4 separate regions of the Homo sapiens genome follow, and regions 1, 2 and 4 are each linked to region 3. Evidence: promoter capture Hi-C in 16 types of primary human blood cells and fetal thymus (Javierre and others, 2016). All regions are on one chromosome and are shown on one strand. The core of a region is centred on a gene start or on the middle of the fragment in contact, and the rest is flanking DNA. Distances in the headings are between cores, read along the strand shown. Region 1 overlaps LOC105369777 (a long non-coding RNA gene). Region 2 overlaps CBX5 (chromobox 5). Region 3 holds the start of ATF7 (activating transcription factor 7). Region 4 overlaps SPRYD3 (SPRY domain containing 3).

Region 1 (3,031 bases), core at 312-2,811, 570 kb before region 3:
CCTGTAATTTCAGCACTTTGGGAAGCTGAGGTGGAAGGATCACTTGAGCTCCGGAGTTTGAGACCAGCCTGGGCAATATAGTGAGACCCCCATCTCCACAGAAAAATTTAAAAATTAGCAGGGTGTGGTGGTGCACATCTGTAGTCCCAGCTACTTGGGAGGCTGAGGTGGGAGGATTGCTTGAGTCTGGGAGGTGAAGGTTGCAGTGAGCTAAGATTGTGCCACTTCCCTCCAGCCTGGGCAACACAGTGAGACTTTGTCTCAAAAAAAAAAGGCTGGGCATGGTGGCTTACTTGCGCCTGTAATCCCAGCACTTTGGGAGGCTGAGGCAGGCAGATCACCTGAGGTCAGGAGTTCAAGACCAGCCTGGCCAACATAGTGAAACCCTGTCTCTTCTAAAAATATAAAAATTAGCCGGGCGTGGTGGCAGGTGCCTGTAATCCCAGCTACTCAGGAGGCTGAGGCAGGAGAATCCCTTGAACCTGGGAGGCGGAGGTTGCAGTGAGCCGACATTGTGCCACTGCACTCCAGCCTGGGTGACAGAGCAAAACTCTGTCTCAAAAAAGAAAAAAAAAAGTATGTCCCTCAAAGTGTTGCTGAGAGGAGTAAAGGAAACAATCCACATAAAGCACTCAGGGTGGTGTCTGGTGTGGACAAAGCACTCACTAACGGTTAGTTATTGTCACTATCACCCTTACCACTATTCTGAAAGATGTGGAATGGAGGACAGAGACAGAGAGAGGGATCACCAGAGAGATGAGAGGGGCAGTATGGGTGGGAAGGAAAGGACAGGTTCAAGAGGGCTGCAGGAGCAAGAGAAGGCAAATGACAGAGCCAGGGCCAGAGGCAAGGAAATTGTCTTTTGGGAACATTGCAGGGGAAGGAGCAGAGCTCAGAAGAATCACCCTAGGTTCAAGTTCCTGCTCTGTGACTGGTTCCCTGGGAGTGCAGGGCAAGGCAGGGCTGGGCCTCGGTGTTGAGTAGGCTGGAAGCTAGGATTCTTGGGTCGTCCTCCCACTTGGTCCCATGGCCACTCTCTCAGACTCATCTTGATCCTCTTCTAGTTGCTCAATTTGGTTCAACCTGTGGGAGATGCTCCTCCCATTCTCCAAGTCTCACTTCCATCCTTCCTGCTAAAGGACTTGGGGATCAGTCCCATTCCCTTGTCTGTCTGTCTATCTGATGTCTGTGTGGTCCCTCAGGATAATTGCTCTGGACAACTCTAACACCACTCAGACAGATTGTCCGGCCTCCTGGCCCTGACATCTCCCACCACTGCATCAAGCCAAATTACTCGGCCCCCCCAAGCCCCGGGCTCTGGTGAAATCCGATTAGTGAGGAGAGAGCTGCACTGAGCTGACAGCTCCTCCGATAATTGCTTCCCAAGTAAGTGATGCAAATCAGCCCATCCAGCCTATTCCTGCTCCTCTCTTGGGGACCCAGGCGTCCAGGCCCCAGGAGATGGAGGACACCAGAGTTGAGGAGACCTAGACGCTGTCATCTTCCTCCAGTTAAGTAGGCATAATCCATAAAGCTAGGTTGTGCTGCCTTGGGGCTGAGGTGTGCGTAGCAGGGTAGCGAGGCTGAGCCAGGGACCCCACTGGCTCTGCATTTCTGTCTTAACTGAGAGGGTGTCACTTTGTCACCTTATTCTCACCCCTTGGAGAATAATCCCATTTCTTGTAAGGTAGATGAAGGCAGAGATATAGAAGATACAGAGACAGCGAGATGGCTGAACCTGTTGAGAAACAAATCAGGCAGGTGCGGTGGCTTACACCCATAATCCCAACATTTTGGGAGGCCGAGGTGGGAAGATCACTTGAGCCCAGCAGTTCAAGACCAGCTTGAGCAACATAGCAAGACCCTGTCTCTACAAAAAAAATTTTTAAATTAGCTGGGTGTGGTGGTGCGCACCTGTAGTCCCAGCTACTGGAGAGGCTGAGGCGGGAGGACTGCTTGAGCCTAGGAGGTCGAGAGTGCAGTGAGTCATGATCATGCCACTGCATTCCAGAGTGAGACCCTGTCTCAAAAAAAAAAAAAAAAAAAAAAAAAGGACACAAATGGATGAACTCACAGCCTAGCTCCTCTGGTTGTGGGCCCTGCAGATAGCTTTCTCTCTTTGTAAGTGCCCCTCCTCACTAGGCTGAGGAAAAGACATGGAGTGTTAAGTCCCCACAGATGGAATGGGGAGGCATGGGGAATCTGATCAAGTCTGGAGACTTTTGCATCTGTGCCAAGGACATGTCCTTGGGATGCAGTGGCCCTTGCTTAACTCACACATCAAGGAGCCCTTTTCCCTTCCCCAAATCAGGGCCCTTTAAAGGGCCTGTTAATGCTTCTTCCTTAATGCATTTCCTTCCTACATCTTTACTTCAGGTTCTTTCTTGCTGTGACCTCCTTATCCCAACTTCTGCTGACCTTGGAGACCTGAAGAGTTACTTTCCTTGCAATCCTGAACTTCCAACTCCAAACCTAACCCTGCATGCAGGTCACTGTCTTTGGGAAATCTACAGGATGAGCTCCCCAGTCTTGTCCTCCGTGCTTGTGTGTCTGATAGGGCTTCATGGACTGGGTCTTGGGTACTCAGACTATCATCTGCCTGAGACCCTGGCAGAGCAACAGCAATAACTACCCTTTGTGGAGCCCAAATTCTGTAATAAGCACTTAATGTAATTAAGTCATTTAAACATCACAAAAGAAGATAGAGATTACAATGATTATCCCATTTTACAACTGAGATAACTGAGGCACAGAGAAATTAAGTAGCATGCCCAAGGTCACCATGAGTAAGTGGCAGAGCTTGGATTCAAACGCAGCAGTCTGATTCCAGAGCCCAAAGTCCTGAGGCCTCTGCTATGCTGTCTTCACTGTCCTATGCTCTTTTGATGTTTGTTGGGCTAATCGGGACAGGACCCAGTGTAGTGGAAGTGGGGAAGGTGGCTACACTGAAAGTTAAACACCAGAACCCCCTTTGGGGCTCCCCATGTCAGAAACAGTGAGTGGGAGCTGAACAGGGTGAAACTTAGTATCT
Region 2 (3,376 bases), core at 30-2,529, 620 kb before region 3:
CTCTGCCTCCCGGGTTCACGCCATTCTCCTGCCTCAGCCTCCCGAGTAGCTGGGACTACAGGCGCCCGCCACCGCGCCCGGCTAATTTTTTGTATTTTTAGTAGAGACGGGGTTTCACCTTGTTAGCCAGGATGGTCTCGATCTCCTGACCTCATGATCCACCCGCCTCGGCCTCCCAAAGTGCTGGGATTACAGGCGTGAGCCACCGCGCCCGGCCCCGGCCCTTTCTTTTGTTCCAGTGATAGCATTTGTTTTCAATCCTTGATAATCTTTTTTTTGCAGTGAAAATCATATAATATACAATTAAATATTTTATTTATTTATTTATTTTGAGACAGAGTCTTGTTCTGTCACTCAGGCTGGAGTGCATGGGCGTGATCTCGGCTTACTGCACCCTCACCTCCTGGGTTCAAGTGATTCTCCTGTTTCAGCCTTCTGAGTAGTTGGGATTACAGGCATGTGCCACCATAGCCAGATAATTTTTGTATTTTTATTTTTATTTTTTATTTATTTTTTTGAGACGGAGTTTCACTCTTGTTGCCCAGGCTGGAGTTCAATGGCATGATCTTGGCTCACTGCACCCTCCATCTCCTGGGTTCAAGTGATTCTTCTGCCTCAGCCTTCCAGAGTAGTTGGGATTACAGACATGCACCACCATGCCCAGCTAATTTTGTATTTTTAGTAGAGAGGGTGTTTCTCCATGTTGGTCAGGGTGGTCTTGAACTCCCTAACTCAGGTGATCCACCTGCCTTGGCCTCCCAAAGTGTTGGGATTACAGGTGTGAGCCACCATGCCTGGCTCAATTAACAATTTTAAAATGTACAGTTCAGTGGCATTTATATTCTCTTGATCTATTATTTCTACATACTTGGCGTACAAAATTAATTTTTGTCTTTTGAATCTTCTTCAGTTTGGGAAGTGTATTTATGAAATTTTGGTTTGATTTAGTTGCTTTAATCCTTCTGATCTTTAGCTCTCAAGTAAGTAGCATAAGCACTGTTATTGCCTCTCTCTCTTTTCATCTGTGTGTGGGCGCATAAATACACACACTCTACCACCTCCTCCCGCCCCCAGCTTCCATTCCTTTTATTTATTTCAAGGTTATGAAGCCTTTTGTGGTGAAGGATGTATCATACACTTTACATTTCATAAAAGCGTAAGTCTACTTCGGAATCTTCCAGCCTTCCAGAGTAGCTGCCACAATCATCCCTATGTATCTTCATTCTAATTAGATTTATACCTTTCTAGAGCATTAGTTCTCAATGCTACACATTATAATCACCTGGGGGGTACGTTAAAAAAAAAAAAAAATCTCCAGTGCCTAAGATGCACCCCAGACCAGTAAAATTAGAATTTTTTTTTTTTCTTTTTTTTTTGAGACATAGTCTCACTCTGTTGCCCAGGCTGGAGTGCAGTGGCACAATCTCACTGCAACCTCTGCCTCCTGGGTTCAAGCGATTCTCCTGCTTCACCCTCCCTAGTAGCTGGGACTACAGGCACATGCCACCATGCCTGGCTAATTTTTTGTATTTTTAGTAGAGATGGGGTTTCACCGTGTTAGCCAGAATGGTCTCAATCTCCTGACCTCGTTATCCGCCCATCTTGGCCTCTCAAAGTGCTGTGATTACAGGCATGAGCCACCACACCTGGCCTCTGTCATTTTTAAAAAGGAGCAGTCTGAATAATCTGGCTTGGAGCCACTGGCCAGTGCACAGAGTTTTGTTCCTAGGCCAGGTTCTGAAGCTGCCGACCTTGAAAACAACCCCCACATGTCCCTTACATCATAATGTTCATCTGGGACCCCTGATAGCATTCTTAGCAGTACTGGCTGCTGTCAGGTAGACAGCTGGAAAGATAGGTGATTGTATGTTTTAAAGGTATAGGAGGGGATTGTGTTTATTTCTTAAGACCACTGGAGAAGAAATTTGTTAGTTTGCATTATGCCTGATTTAAGATTACTGCCTGTATGATGATTTTAGCATTTTCTTCGCCCTGGCTCCTTTTCAGCAGCTTGAACGTTTTTCTTCCATTCGCCTCCTCTTCCCTCCCTATGTAGCAAACTGTTTTCAGTTGCCAGTTATGATTTACAACTTAGTCCATGCACCAGCATTCCAGCTGTGAGCAGCTGTGTGCACATCTGGGAACTTCTTCCCCTTAAGCACCCCCAAAAGAGGCTATGTTTTTAAAAGTCAGTATCTCTCATTGATCCACGCGTGGAATGTCCTTCCAATTGTGAATTTTGGTATCTTTGGGGACCACCCGGACCCCAAATGCTTTGTATGTCTCAGAGGAAAGCAGGTGAACATAAGATCAAAGAGATTTTATTATGAAAATCGGGCAGTAGAGATTTAGTTCATTTGGGCATCTCTAAATCTTTTTTTTGTGTGTGTGTTGCCACTAGAGAGGCTAGCATTATCTTCCATAATAAAGTTTTTTCAAATTACCTAGTTTGGGCCGGGTGCGGTGGCTCACGCCTGTAATCCCAGCACTTTGGGAGGCTGAGGCGTGTGGATCACTTGAGGCCAGGAGTTCAAGACCAGTGTGGTCAACATGGTGAAACCCTGTCTCGACTAAAAATACAAAAAATTAGCCAGGCGTAGCCGGGTGTGATGGCTCACATCTGTAATCTCAGCACTTTGGGAGGCCGAGGCAGGGTGGATCACCTGAGGCTAGGAGTTTGAGACCAGCCTGGCCAAAATGGTGAGACCCCTGTCTCTACTAAAAATGGAAAAATTAGCCAGGTGCGGTGGCACGCACCTGTAATCCCAACTACTCAGGAGGCTAAGGCAGGAGAATCGCTTGAATCTAGGAGGCAGAGGTTGCAGTGAGCTGAGATTGTGGCACTGCACTCCAGCCTGGGCAACAGAGCAAGACTCTGTCTCAAAAAAAAAAAAAAAAAATTAGCCAGGGGTGGTAGCAGGCACCTATAATCCCAGCTACTCAGGAAACTGAGGCAGGAGAATCACTTGAACCTGGAAGGTGGAGGTTGCAGTGAGCTGAGATTGCGCCACTGCACTTTAACCTAGGCAACAGAGGGAGACTGTCTAAAAAAAAAAATTACCTGGCTTGTATAAAATTTTGCTTTTTGGCTCTCATCAGTGTTACTACACATGGATTTGAACCTGTGCTCCTTGTCTAGATTGTATTACTACATTTAGACCAAGTTTCAATACTCATCTCATGAATTATCAAATTTTTTCTCTCTCTTAAGAGACAGGTTCTCACTATGTTGCCCACCATGGAGCACAGTGGCGTGATCATAGCTCACTGCAGGCTTGAACTCCTGGGCCCAAGGGATCCTCCCACCTCAGCCTCCTGAGTCGGAGTAGCACACTTCAAGTGTGCATCACTGTGCCCAGCTAATTTGCAGAGACAG
Region 3 (3,135 bases), core at 449-2,948:
CAATGGCGGGATCTTGGCTCACTGCAACCTCCGCTTTCCAGGTTCAAGTGATTCTCTTGCCTCGGCCTCCTGAGTAGCTGGGATTTACAGGCGTGAGCCACTGCGCCCGGCCAACATACAAATTTTTCTTATATATTTAAGGTATGTTTCCATCACTGTATTCTTTTAAGTAGGAATTGTTTTAGGGGAGAATAGTTTGGAAGCCAAGACTCCTCTCAACTTTTCTCAATTCACTACATAAGAAAGAAAGATTTTACATCTGTTTCATTTTAGGTATCTAGGGAGAAATCACCCAGATTCTTCCTACCTCTCAGAGGGTGCTGTGAGGATAGATGAGATGCTAGACAGAAAGTTCAGAAAGCTGAGTAACATAAAGCTGCAAAAGGAGAGAACAGAGATTCCATAGATAATATTTTAAGTCAACTACAATTCGTTAAATTTTAAGAAAATTATTTATTTTATTTATTTATCGAGACAGGGTTTCACTCTGTTGTCCAGGCTGGAGTGCAGTGGCCTGATGTGGGCTCACTGCCACCTCAACCTCCTGGGCTCAAGCGATCTTCCCACTTAGCCCCCCGAATAGCTACTACAGGTGCAGGCCACCATGCCCGGCTAATTTTATATTTTTTCGTAGAGCTGAGTTTTCGCCATGTTGCCCAGGCTGGTCTCAAATTCCTGGGCTCAGGCGATCCTCTTGCCTCGGCCTAGCAGTGTTGGGATTACAGACGTGAGCCACTGCACCCAGCCTGTTTTTTGTTTTTCTTTTTTCTTTTCCTGGTTTGTCTTGAACAAGACATATAAATGTAAGACTATAGACTTTGCATTTGATATTTCCCCCGAAATCTTCCCAGGTCATAATTCAACTCCTGGTGTGTTACTTCCTCAAAGAGGTCTTCTCTCAAACACTAGGAGTAAAGCTTCTTCCCCACTCCTAGTCACCTTCTGTCTCACTATCCTGAAGCGCTTTTCACTATTTGAAATATTTGTGTTTATTGGCTTTTTAACTGTCTCCCCTTCCTCACTCAAATATAAATTCTACCTGGGTTGGTAACTCCTTAACCCCATGCTTAGAACAATGCTTTGCACGGGGGGTATAGCTCAGGGATAGAGCATTCGACTGCAGAACAATGCTTTGCATGTAGTATGCCCTACGTTTTGTGAAAATATTTGCTGAATAATATAGTGATTTTAAAAAATCCCCAAGCAGTTTCATGTATCTCATTTGATCATTACAACTATTTGAATAAAATGAGATTGTTAGTCCCATTGTACAGAGACTCAGAGAAGGTTTTCACCCAAGGCAATAGGGCTAGTAAAATGGTAGTGTTAGAATTGCTGTGCGGGTGGATTGCTTTGTCCGTACATGGACTTCATTTCTAGCGCTAAGGGTATTTTAAATTACTTTGCCGTTAAGGAAGCGATGACTCTGAAAGATAGTAGTAACCACCACTACAGGCACCTGTAAAGATCCTCTCTCCTTTTTCCTTTCTTTCTCCCGCTAGATTCTGCAGCCGAACACGTGTGACCTGTGTGGACAGTACTCGCTCAGTCTCCCTCCCCAGCCCTGCCCACAGTAAGCCCGGCCCCTTCTTTTCCCGGAGCCCCCGCCTCTCGGCCGCTTTCCAACTCAGCCCCCACGGATCTCGCCCTTCCCCCGCGGACCCATGACTTCTCGCGAGAGTTGAGCGCGCCTGGCCGGACGGGAGGAAAGTATCCGTTCCGCCAAGGGGGGAAAGGAGGAGCTGGAGACAGATTGTAGGACCGAGCGCGGGCAGGCGGGAGGCAACGGAGCTACCAGCCGGTAAGTCCTTTTAACATTAGCTAGTCCATGATCTGACGGGAGTCTCCCTTTCAACTCTGGCCAGTCCCAGCGTTCCAGGCTGGGGTCTCCCCTCCCAGTCTGTGTTGGACGGGGGCGCTGAGGCGGTGGCCGGGCCCTGTCTGAGGAAGAGGGTGGGGCATAGGCCAAAGCCGACCAATGGGAGAGAAGGAAGCCTCGATTGGCGGCGATGAGCGCTAATGGGAGATCGCTTTTACGTTGCCGAGCGCCGCCCTTCTCTCCCTACTCCCGCCTCCTTCCTTTGGGGGGAAGGCGGGGCCAGAGGCTTGAAGTGTGGGGAGAACTTGGTGTAAGTAGCCCCGGGGGGCACAGGGCGTGGCAAGGAGAGGGGAATTGAATCCTGAGGGAAGGGTAGTCTAGTGGAGCCTAATGGAAGGATCATGGGATGGGGTGGAATGGGAGAAAGAGGAGGGATACTAAACTAAGTTAGAAACCCAGGGCTTCCCAAAGAGTGGGATTAGGAGCTTGGAATTGGAAAAGGGTAATAGGAAGGAGGTAGGAATGAGTAGATGAGAACAAAGATCTTGATCTGGTGACACAACACCCCGTTGGGTTTGGCAGAAAAGATAGATGGGGTGGATTATTGGAAATGAGGGTCATGGCATTTTGATTGAATTAATTAAAAGAACATCAGGGACATGATATCAGAGAGAAAGTATGGATTTGGAGAAAATTAAGTGAATTAATTTAAGAGGACAGTATGGGTGAGCTGAGTCGCCATAAGGCATGGCTTCTGGAAGGATATGAGCCTTGAGAGCGATAAGAGGTGTTTGGGAAGGAGATGGCTGATATACACATGTCTTTAGCCTAGGTATCAGGTGGTTGGGATATTGATTTAGGGCTTCTGGTGGATATGGCACCCAGACTGGTGACCAGCCTCCAAGATGCTGGGATGGGGGTTGAGAAGGAGAAAAATAGAACGCTTTCATCGCTTCTCTGATTTTCCTTCTCCCTCTCTTCTATTACCCAAACTCTTCCCAGACACCAGGATGTGGTCTTGGGACTTAAGCAGTCCAAGTTGGAGCCCCATAGGGACTTAATATGTTGCTCTGAATTGCTTGTTATGTTCTCTGACTGGGGTGTTTACAACCCAGGGCACCTCCTACCCAGATTCCCGCGTTGCTACTTTCCTAACTTTAAAAGTTTGTTTTCTGCTTAACAGAGGGTGTTTTAGTATCTCTGAGGGTCATGTCATATTAAGTACAGGTGTGTAGGGGGTGTGCAGAGTTTTCTCAGCAAGCTCACATGAGTCCTGTGTTTAAAAATTTTGCAGTAGTGTAATTCTTGTAGCGATA
Region 4 (3,022 bases), core at 45-2,544, 560 kb after region 3:
AGGAAGTGTGCCCTCCTGCTGCTTCTGACACTCTGCACCCCCGTCTGGCATCAGGGTCCCAGGCTGCAGCGACCGAGAGCTAAGAGGCCTCAGATGCCCACTCCGTGACTCTCATGTCTTTCCTTTTTCCCCTCAATCTACCATCATTCTGACAACATCTACAGAGTTAAACTTGGGGCTGCGCCAGGGCGATGTTCCAGCTCTCATCTCTGACCTCTCCTCAAGAGTTTTTTCCTGGCATCCTTTCTCTGCCTGGACCTGTCCCCACTCTGCTCTCAGCTCCTCCCAGGCAATCTTTTCTAATTGATGCAGAATCCTGTAGACATTTATAAATAGCCTTCCTTCCTCCCCACCCTCCCCCCAACACCTTCAGCCACTTATTTAAGAGTGTTTTTCTTTTTTAGACATAAGCTGTTGAATTGGGCCCTTCTCTCAGACCCTCACCCCAGCTTGGGCCAGGTGGCAGGGTGGGAGCACTACTCCTGGGGCACCCGTTCCTCTGGGGCCAACTTGGATGTGAGCTTCCTGAGGGACATGTGCCTTTTTCCAGTCATGCCAACTTTCCTTTTTTTTTTTTTTTTTTTTTTAAGACAGGCTATCACTCTGTCACCCAGACTGGAGTGCTGGTTCACTTCAGCCTCCAACTCCCAGGCTCAAGGGATCCTCCCACCTTGGCCTCCCAAATTGCTGGGATTAGAGGCATGAGCCACTGCCCTGGGCCTCAACAGTTGTTAGATTTGAGTCTTTGGATATAGACAGACCTGGCTCTTTCTTGAGTGGAATTCTTCCCCTGCCTCCTGTGGCCTGTTTCCCCCTCCTAAAGAGTCTACCTCCTCAGAGCTCTGAGGGGTTGAGGAATTGCTGGGGCACTTGCCTCTCACCTCATCCCTGCCTCCAGGCCTCGCAAAGTGAGGTAATGTGGTGGAGGGGAGCTGGGGGCGGTAGGTAACAGCTGGGGGATTAGACTCATTCTGTGTTTGTGCCCTGTTCACAGCTCCTCTGACAACTCCTTAGTGACAGGGGCAACAGCTTTGGTACACACAGGGTGGTGAATGAGGCCCCGCCCTCCCAGGGGTCCTCCCCAGACCCAGCCCAGAGGGAGGCTGTGCTGGAGCCTGAGCTGGCCAGGAGAGTGTGTACTTGGTTCCTGTTTCAGTTGCTTCTGGGCCCTCAGGGCACTGAGCCCTTCCTTGCTCCTGTCAAGAGGGATTAGGGTCTCTGCTGGCAAGGGGAGGAGGGCGGATACCGGCAGGGGAGAAGAGGCTGGGAAGGTGCTACTGGTAGAGGGAGGGTGTGGAGTGCACGAGACTGTCCACACTCTGGTCTGCAGCCGCCACTCTGTGGCACTGAGTCATGTCTTTGGCTTCTTGGGGCTTTGGTGGTATGTGTGTATTAGGGGGAGACCCAAAGAAAGGGCTCCATCTTCCCCCACCAAAAATGCAGAGAAACATTTCTGTTGATTGGACATTGTTTGAGAGGAGACACATAGGGTAGAGTTGTCTGGGGAGTGGCCATCGTCCTGGTTGGCCTAAGGGACCATTGTAGTTGGAAGTAAGGGCTAAGATGAAAGATCATTTCCTTCTTTGTGATCGGCAATTCCAACGTAACCCCATTTACACTGATTTAGGGAGAGGCAGCAATGTGTATTGGTCACTTCATTAAGTCTTCCCACTTGTTTTTGGAAATTCAGGTAATCTTATCCCAGTTTACTGTTGAAGAAACCAAGGCTTAAGGAGGTGAATGTCATTTGCCTGAGGTTAGCGGCTGTTAAGTAATAGGAGTTAGGATTTGAACCCAGGTCTGTTGGATTCTGAGGTACAGGTTGAGGGACCAGCATCAAGATCCTAACAGTTCAGACTCTAAGGGTTAACCTTCACTCCTCCTCTAGGTTCCTAACAGCTATAGACCAAGGAGGCAGAGGAATGTACTCAAGAAAGAATCTGTCAGGGAGGCCAAATATTCCCCCCACTTCCACCCCTCTGAGTTCTCTGGGAAGGCTCAGGAGGGGTCGGGGGAGCTTTGTCCAGGAGCAGGAGAGTGGATCAGGAGGTTTATGATGGCTTTCACTGTGAGGGCTGGGCGGTCCCCTCTGAAGAGGGCACGCTGTACAAGCCTCACCTATACACTGTACAAGTACCTAGTCGTCCAGGACATCAGCATTCTGTCCGAAGTGCTCTGTGGTTGGCAGGTAGAGAGTGGGTTTTAAAGACCCATGTTGGGGTAGTCCGTCCTGGCTTTTAGCGTGAGAAAGCACCTCCACCCTATCCAGAGACAGAAATGCAGCAGCTACCCTCTTCTGAGCTGAGGCAAAGGGAGGGGCTGGCCGGGTATTTCCCAAGGATCAGGGTCTGGATCGGCTGTCTTTTGGCTCTGGAAATGGAGAACACTGTGTTTCCTACACCGAGGCCAGTTGGATAGAATGGGTCAAAGGCAGCTGTGGGGTCCCCCACCCAGTTCTGCAATGCTGGGTGGAGAGGGTGGGCTGGGGGCTGCTCTGCCTGGGTGGAGTCTAAACTAGTTAATGTGGATCAAGCCACACCCCTCCTGGCTTCCCGGGGAGAGAGGCAGAGGAGGAACCCAGGCTGAGCAGAGAATACACCATGAACAGAAGTCAAACAGTGTGGCCTTGGGGATGGGCTTAGGTGGTCTCCCGTGCATGCTGCTTTCCCCCTCATCCATCCCCAGTTATCTTTGGAGAGGAGGGAAGGATGGACTTGAGGTGGCGGGGCTGAGATCCAGGGCTGAGAAAGGCACCAAGCCCCTCTAGTCCTACTCTCAGAAGGGGTTAGTAGCACCCCGCTCTAAGCACCTGAGCTAAGCAGCGGCCGTCTGAGGCTGGGAGTGGGGATGCGGGAGCAGCCTCTGCTGGAGACACGCACAGGCTTCTGTGCTGGTGCAGGTGGGCATAATTCCTTTCCTGTTCAGGCAGGAATCTGTGAGAGGTGAGAGGCCGGCGTCCCAAAGCTTGCCAGGGAGACGTGGAGGAGGTCCCTAGGCAACATGTTTCCTTCAGGGCTGCAGG

Evidence for each region. Contacts are between HindIII fragments. The CHiCAGO score rates a contact against its expected background, and 5 or more counts as called.
Region 1: a fragment that was not itself captured here is called in contact with the fragment with the promoter of ATF7 in region 3 in 1 of 17 cell types (neutrophils); the score reaches 5.5 in neutrophils.
Region 2: a fragment that was not itself captured here is called in contact with the fragment with the promoter of ATF7 in region 3 in 1 of 17 cell types (M1 macrophages); the score reaches 5.1 in M1 macrophages.
Region 4: a contact is called between a fragment that was not itself captured here and the fragment with the promoter of ATF7 in region 3, in 1 of 17 cell types (neutrophils). The highest score is 7.0, in neutrophils.

The regions. Positions count from the first base shown.
Region 1 is chr12:54,191,920-54,194,950 of GRCh38, reverse strand. The region is part of intron 2 of LOC105369777 (a long non-coding RNA gene); the gene reads right to left. Among named protein-coding and RNA genes, the nearest start is that of SMUG1, 4.4 kb to the right of the region's middle. The HindIII fragment of the contact is 8,187 bases long and covers 1-3,031 here.
Region 2 is chr12:54,247,365-54,250,740 of GRCh38, reverse strand. The region is part of intron 3 of CBX5 (chromobox 5); the gene reads left to right. Among named protein-coding and RNA genes, the nearest start is that of SCAT2, 14 kb to the left of the region's middle. RefSeq lists a silencer at 1,536-1,735. The HindIII fragment of the contact is 5,143 bases long and covers 1-3,376 here.
Region 3 is chr12:53,624,945-53,628,079 of GRCh38, reverse strand. ATF7 (activating transcription factor 7) reads left to right here and starts at 1,698. Exons shown (of 12, transcript NM_006856.3): 1 at 1,698-1,801. ATF7-NPFF (ATF7-NPFF readthrough) reads left to right here and starts at 1,698. Exons shown (of 15, transcript NR_159377.1): 1 at 1,698-1,801. RefSeq lists an enhancer at 1,772-1,841. The HindIII fragment of the contact is 3,816 bases long and covers 920-3,135 here.
Region 4 is chr12:53,069,289-53,072,310 of GRCh38, reverse strand. All of the region lies in intron 6 of SPRYD3 (SPRY domain containing 3), which reads left to right. Among named protein-coding and RNA genes, the nearest start is that of SPRYD3, 8.6 kb to the left of the region's middle. RefSeq lists enhancers at 1-46, 1-429. The HindIII fragment of the contact is 3,345 bases long and covers 1-2,966 here.